Regions from separate parts of the Homo sapiens genome. Here region 1 is linked to region 2. The links are contacts of gene promoters, found by promoter capture Hi-C in human tissues and cell types (Jung and others, 2019). All regions are on one chromosome and are shown on one strand. Each heading gives the region's core, a stretch centred on a gene start or on the middle of the fragment in contact. The rest is flanking DNA. Distances are from core to core; before and after follow the strand shown.

The links. Contacts are between HindIII fragments. The study calls those that stand out against the background at their distance.
Region 1: the fragment with the promoter of ZNF579 here is called in contact with the fragment with the promoter of SHISA7 in region 2 in 3 of the 25 tissues and cell types used here (heart right ventricle, psoas muscle and spleen).

Annotation. Positions count from the first base shown.
Region 1 is chr19:55,578,753-55,582,130 of GRCh38, forward strand. It overlaps ZNF579 (zinc finger protein 579), which reads right to left and starts at 2,096. Exons shown (of 2, transcript NM_152600.3): 1 at 2,043-2,096; 2 at 1-889. The coding sequence starts at 887. RefSeq lists silencers at 2,300-2,439, 3,151-3,378. The HindIII fragment of the contact is 17,237 bases long and covers 1-3,378 here.
Region 2 is chr19:55,442,021-55,445,256 of GRCh38, forward strand. It overlaps SHISA7 (shisa family member 7), which reads right to left and starts at 1,280. Exons shown (of 4, transcript NM_001145176.2): 1 at 173-1,280. The coding sequence starts at 843. RefSeq lists an enhancer at 1-600 and a silencer at 94-183. The HindIII fragment of the contact is 24,914 bases long and covers 1-3,236 here.

The sequences.
Region 1 (3,378 bases), core at 846-3,345, 140 kb after region 2:
CGGTCGGTGGAGTGGACCAGCCGGTGGCGCGACAGGGACCAGGGCCTGGCGAAGGCCTTGAGGCAGATGGAGCACTGGTGTCGCTTGGGGCGTGGCGGGGGCCCCCCTTCCCCTTCCTGTTCGCCCTCGGGGCGCAGACACGGGTGCGCCTTGAGCTCGCCCTTGGTGGCGAAGGCTTCGCGGCAGCGCAGACACAGCAGCGTCCAGTCTGCCTGGAGCAGGACCTGTTTCTCCTCCTGCCGCCCGGCCGCCAGCGCCAGCTCGGCCCTCAGCTCTGCTGCCCCGGCCTCGGCCTCCTCCGACTCCGACTCCCGGGGCTCCGCGGCGCTGGTGGGCGCAGCCAGCGTGGAAGGCTCCCCCGCAGGCCACGTCTCAGGCCACGCTGCGACCGCCTCCTCCTCCGTGGCCCCTGCTGCAGCGGTGGTGGGCGGCTCCGAGCCCTCGTCCTGCGGGCCCCAGCTGGGTTCGGCCGTCTCCTTGGCCACCCTCTCGATGGCCAGCTCGACCTCGCCGCCCGCGTGCTCCTGAGCCAGGTGGCGCCTGAGCTGGGCCGGTTCTGGGAAGGTGCGGGGGCAGGCGGCGCAGCGCAGCGGGGGCTGGGGCCCGTGGCCGCGCAGGTGGCGGGAAAGGTGGGCCGGCCGGCGGAAGGCCTTGGGGCACAGCGGGCAGGCGTGGGGCCGGAGCCCCGAGTGGCTCAGCCGGTGCCGGGAGAGGTAGTAGGGGAAACGGAAGAGGCGGCCGCAGGTGGGGCAGGGCAGGGGCGCCCTAGGGGCTCCAGCGCCCCCCCTGCCACGGCCACGGCCCCGACCACGGCCTCGGCCACGGCCCCGGCCTCGGCCACGGTGAGGTGGGCTGCCCTGGGCGGGTGGAGGAGGCTGCGGATCCATGCCTGTGGGGAGAGAGGGGAGAGATGGGAAGCGGGGCAGAGATAAAAAGAGGTGCGTGGGGTGTGGCAGAAAGAGAAGCAGAGACAGTCAGAGATGGAGAGGCAGAGAGGGTCAGGTATTTAGCCAGGAGAGAGATATGAGACAGAGACAAAGATGAGAGACACCGAGGGGAGGCCAGAGATGGAGAGACAGGAGGAGAGAGATCAGAGACAGAGCGACAGAGCAGGGAATAGAGACAGGAGAAGGCAGAGATGGGAGACACAGAGAAGTGGGGATGGACAGACAGAGACCAGGAGTCGCAGAAAGACAGGATGGTGAAAGGCAGAGCAGAGAAGAGACAGAGGAGAGTGAGGAACACCCAGCAGAGAGACAGAGACACAGAGAAGAGGAAACAAAGAGACTTGGAGAACCAGAGGCAGAGATAGTGCAAGAGCAGAGATCAGAAGAGCAGTGGCGGGTTGGGGGCCGGAGAGACAGGGAGACAGAGACACAGAGGGAGTGAACTGGGCAGAGGCACGGAGGGGGACAAAGTCAGCGAACCGCTTCTGCTCCAGGTCCCCCGGCCAGGCTGAACGTTTTGGGAGGGGCTGGGACACAGCCCATGGGGCCTGAGTGGAGGGGGTGGGATTTGAAGCCGGTAGGCCCCGGAAATAGAGTGTGTTCTCAGATGCCAGGGGCTGGGAGAGGTCGGGGAGTAGGAGGGTTCAGACTTCTGGTCTGAGTTGGGAGGGGGCTAGGGGCCCAGACTCTTGGGACTGATGGGGATGGGAGCTGGGGATTGAGACTCCTGGGTCCAGGTCATGACGGATTGGGGAATCTGGACTCTGGTATGGAGGAGGTGTGGATTCCTGGGTCCCGGTGGAGGAGGGGCTGGGGAGGGGGCTGGGCTCCCAGGACAAGGGGGAGGCGGGGGCTGGGGACCCAGCTGCCGGGAATCCCCAGGGAGGAGGCGACTGAGGGCCGGACCCCTGGACTCGGGAGGGAGGCTGGTGGGGGTCGGGGGTCCCAGGTCCTAGAGGGGGGCCGATCTCCTCCGGGCCAAGCCTGCAGCTCCCCGAAGGCATGATCAGCAGAATTGGGGCCGGGTCGAGGCCTTGAGGATTTCTCAGCCCTGGGCCTGGGGCTTGGTCCTGGTCGCTGGGGCTGGGTTCTTACCTCGCCTCCTTGGCTCCTTTCTTCCTTCCCCACGGCCGGCCAAACGCGGACGGTGGTGGCGGGGAGGGAGGGGGGCCTGAGCGTGGTGGGGGGTGGAGGAGGAGGCTGGGCTCGGTGTCACTGCCTAAGCCTTCCCCCCGGAAACCTGGCCTTTCCTCGGAGCCTGAAAGAGGAAAGACTGGCTGGGAAGCCGGAAGCGGGAGGACGGGGGACCTGGAGAGGGGAGGGAAGGCAGCTTGCACTACAGGGTCCTGTGAGGGGAGGGGGCTGGGGGCCTGTCCCCCGGGCTCCCAGAGGGCGGAGGGTGCTGAGGGCCTGGAACACTGGGTCCAGCTACTCCCGGCTCCCCAACATGCACACACACATATTCATTCATTCCTTCAACAAATACACATTTATCAGGTCCTGTCTGTGCCAGGCACTGTGTCAGGCCAGGGGAGTGGCCGGGGGAGGAAGATGAATGAATCAGTGACAGAGGCTTCAGGAAGTACTGGCACTCTGGATCAGAACCTGGCTCCAGCCTTCCCTTGGCTGTCTGGGTGAAGGATTCTCCCACTTCGAGCCTCGGTTTCCCCCTTTGTGAAAGCCCCTGCATATACTCATTCAACCCTAAGCGACCAATATTTACTGAATATCTACTACGGGCCAGCCTGCATATATTTGTCTACATATACGCATATTCACTGGGACCTTAGCAGCCAATGTTTACTGAGCACCTACTATGGGCTGGTGCTGTCCTTGGTGCTGGAGTCACAGTGGCAAAAACCGGAGCTCACTGTCTGATGGGGAAGGCAGATAGATACGGATCAATCACGCTGGAGTGCATGTGGGGGAACGTGTGCTCCGAGGCAGGGAACTGCTATGGGAATGCAGAGAACAGAAGGCACTGAGCTGAGCTCACACTGGGAGGAGGTGATTCCTGAGGTCTTCCTGGAGGCAGCAATGTTTCAGCTGAAATTGGCAGAATGAAACCAACCTGGCGACATCTCAGAAACCTATTCTGGAGCAGAAAAGGCATTTTGCAGGAGTATACCCACAGCTTGACGCTGTTTGTTTAAGGTTACATTCCTGCCAAACAGTGCTAATGAGAGTGCGAGCAAACAGGTCCTTTCATACACGGCTGGGGCAAGTAGAACCTGGAACATTCTTACCGAGCCAGCAATTCCAGGAATTTATTCTTCAGAGGCATCTACTCGGAACTGCACAAAATAATGTCTGCACCAGGTTAATCATTGCAGTACTGCACATCACTGCAAACAGCTGAAACCAATCTAAACACCCATCTGTAGGAGAGCTGAGTAATAAATCATGACTGATCCACCCAGTGGAATACTAG
Region 2 (3,236 bases), core at 30-2,529:
GCTCTGGCGCGACTTTCTCAGCCCCTGCCCACCTTCAGCTACGCCGGCGGCCGCCACCTGGGTCTCTGACCACCACGCCCTATCCCTGCAGCCCCTCCTCCTCGGATGGCTCCACCTCCCTTGCTGGGCCCCGCCCCAGGCTCGCAGTCCTCCCGCCCGAGAGCACACGCACCTGGGCACGTTGATATCCCGGTGCGCCCGGGGCGCACGGGACGCCTTGCTGAAGGCCACTTTGGCGCCGACGCCCACGGCCAGGGCGAAGCTGATGACCCCGCACACGACGTAGGCTGTGCTGCCCCCGGGGCCCTCGCCCCCGCGGCCCCCGGCACCCCCAGTCCGGCCCCCTTCCAACCACCCGGCCTGGCCGGGCCCTGGCCCCCCGCCCGCACCCCCAGCGCCCCCGGCGCCCCCAGCTAGCGGCGGCGGCGTGGTGGCCCAGCGCGGCGTGTCGTAGTTGGAGCAGGAGGCCTGCGCCAGGCGCATGTGACGGTGCTCACAGCAGAAGCGGTAGTGGCAGGTGCCACAGCAGAAGCGGTAGGAGCCGGTGCTGCAGTTGAAGGTGGCGTCGTACTGGCCCATGACATCGTAGTAGCCGTGGCAGAGCTCGGCGGGAGGGGGCGCCCGGGCCGCCGCGCCCGCCCCGCCCGCGGGGCCGGTCCTGGTGCCGTTGGCGCCTGGGCTCGCCGCGCCCCCGCCGCCCGTCAGCGCCCCGGTCAGGCGCCGCAGGTGCGCCAGCAGGGCGGGCAGCGGGCCCGCGGGCTCGGCGCTCGTGGCGTTGGACGGGCGCGCCCTGGCCTGGCCGGCGCTAGAGGCCAGGAGTACGAGGAGCAGGAGGGCCGGCATGGGGCTTGCAGGGGGTCGCACTGGGCCGCCAGGCTGCGGGGAGAACGAGAGCAGAGGTTGGAGCGCTGGGCGGGAGAGAAACGGTCAGAGGGTGAGAAACGTAGAGATGGGTGGGCAGAGAGGCTGGGGAGGGCGGGCGGGGGGCGGCAGAGTGTGGGGAGCAACAGGCGCCAGGAGGCAGGAAGGGCGGAGGGAGCTGAGCTGCGTGGGCCCAAGTTGGCCGCCCCACGCGCGGTGGGCGACGATGGGAGAGTAATGGAAACGCGCCCGGGCACGGCTGGGGGAGAGAAATGAGCATGGGCGGACAGAACCGGGATCAGGCGAGAGATGAATGCGGGAGAAGCGATTGGGAGGGTCGACAGACACCAGAGGGGTGTGCAGACATTAGGACGAGGAGCGAGGCGAGGCGCGATGTAAGGAGAAGAAACGGGGGCGGCGAAGAGGAGAGGGCAGGGGAGGCAGCTGGAGGGAGGCGCGCGAAGGGGAGGGGAGGGTGGCGAGGGGAGTGGGGACCGCGGAGGGAGGGAAGGAAGCGAGACAGATGAGGGGTGGGTGGGAAAGGAGGAGTCAGGGAGACGGGGAAGGAGGGAGAAAAGAAGGGGAGGAGGAGGAGGGGGAGGAGAGGGAGGGAGGAGGAGAGAGAGAAGTTGAGAATTTGAGTTTATAGACCAGGCAAGTGGGAAGAGGCAGTGCACGGTTTTTCAACACTGACATTCGGGGACCGATGCTGCTTTGTGGTGAGCGCCTGTCCTGAGCGCTGTAGGATGTTTAGCAGCGCCCTCTCCATGCCAGCAGCACCACATTCCCCCGAGTTGTGACAATGTAAGATGTTTCCAGGCATTGCCAAATGTTCCCCTGGTGGGAGGAGGCCACAGCTGCCCCCGTGGAGAACCACTGACTTACACCCCTATGGTCCTCAGTGCCCCGAAATGCCAATTTCTCTCCCTTAGTTAGATCTGATAATCAAGGGATCTTAGGTGCCCTCCCTCCCTCCCTCTCTCTCCCTCTCTCTCTCTCTCTCCCTGGCATGCACACGCACACACACACCACTGTTACGGCGTCGGGTTTGAAGGGTCTCTGTCCACAGCTGAACCACAACCACAGCAGGGTGGTTCCCCTGCCGACTGGACCTCCTGCCAGCTGCCTGACACTGACAGGCTCTTATCTAAGCTCCCTGTGCCCCAAGTCCCCCATCTGTAAAATGGGGATAAGGATGGTTATCTCTGAGTGGTCAGGAGGATGAACTGAGGGAATATGTGTAAAGAGCTTAGAACAGTGCCTGGCATATTGCAGGTGAAATATGAAAGTGTTTGCTGCTGCTGCTATTTCAGAAGGGAGATACAGGCTGAGAAAGGGTCGTCCGGGTGCGGCGGCTCACGCCTGTAAATCCCAGCACTCTGGGAGGCCAAGGTGGGCAAATTGCTCAAGCAGGAGACCAGCCAGCCTCGCCAACACAGCAAAACCGTGTCTTTACAAAAAAAAAAAAAAAAAAAATTAGCCCGGCGTGGTCGTGCGCACCTATAGTCCCAGGTACTCAGGACGCTGAGGTGGGAGGATAACTTGAGTCCCAGAGATCAAGGCTGCTGGGAGCTGTGATTTCACCACCGCACTCCAGCCTGAGTTGACAGAGTGAGACCCTGTCTCAAAAGAGAGAGAAAAGGTGATGCAGAAGAGAGGTGGGAGTTGGTGGTGGTGGTGGTGGGCACGTCTTCCAGCTGTTTCTATGGCAACAGTCCAGCCAAGTCCCAGACACGCCCACCCCCGTGGACCTAGAGGGATGATAGAGGTGGGAAGGATGCCTGGCCTCGGGTTCCGGGAGAAGGAAACGTCTGAGCTCTACCTGCAGGAGGAACCCCCCAGGGGTCTGGGGTGACTGCCCACGGAGTCTTACATTTCCTCTCTGCAAGAACCTGATCTGAACAGCCCCTGCCCTGAGCTAGCTGCCGAGAGGCTGCCATAGAGCTTCCCAGGAGCAGGCATGATGCGCGGGGTGTGCATTCGTTCTGCAAATCTTCATTCAATAAATGTCTCCTGAGCAGCCTCCCTGGGCTGAGGATGCAGCAGTGAGTAAGCCCACAGGGTTCCTGCCTTTACGGGGGTTTACGTGCTAGTGAGGGGGGACAGTCAGCAGATGGACACAAATGAATGGGACACATGTTGACGCCAATTGTGAAGAAATAAAAAGGAATGATGAAGGAAGCCGTGAAGAAATGAAAGCAGCATAAAGGGATGGAGGGGGTGGATGGGATTGAGTCAATAAATATCACTCGGTGTTATTTTCTATTATATGCCACCATCCATCGTGTGTGTGTCTAGGGACCACACCACTGTCAACAACATTGCTGCTGGTGGGGATGGGCAGAGGGTTGGAAGGTGAACCTTCCAGAGCCTCA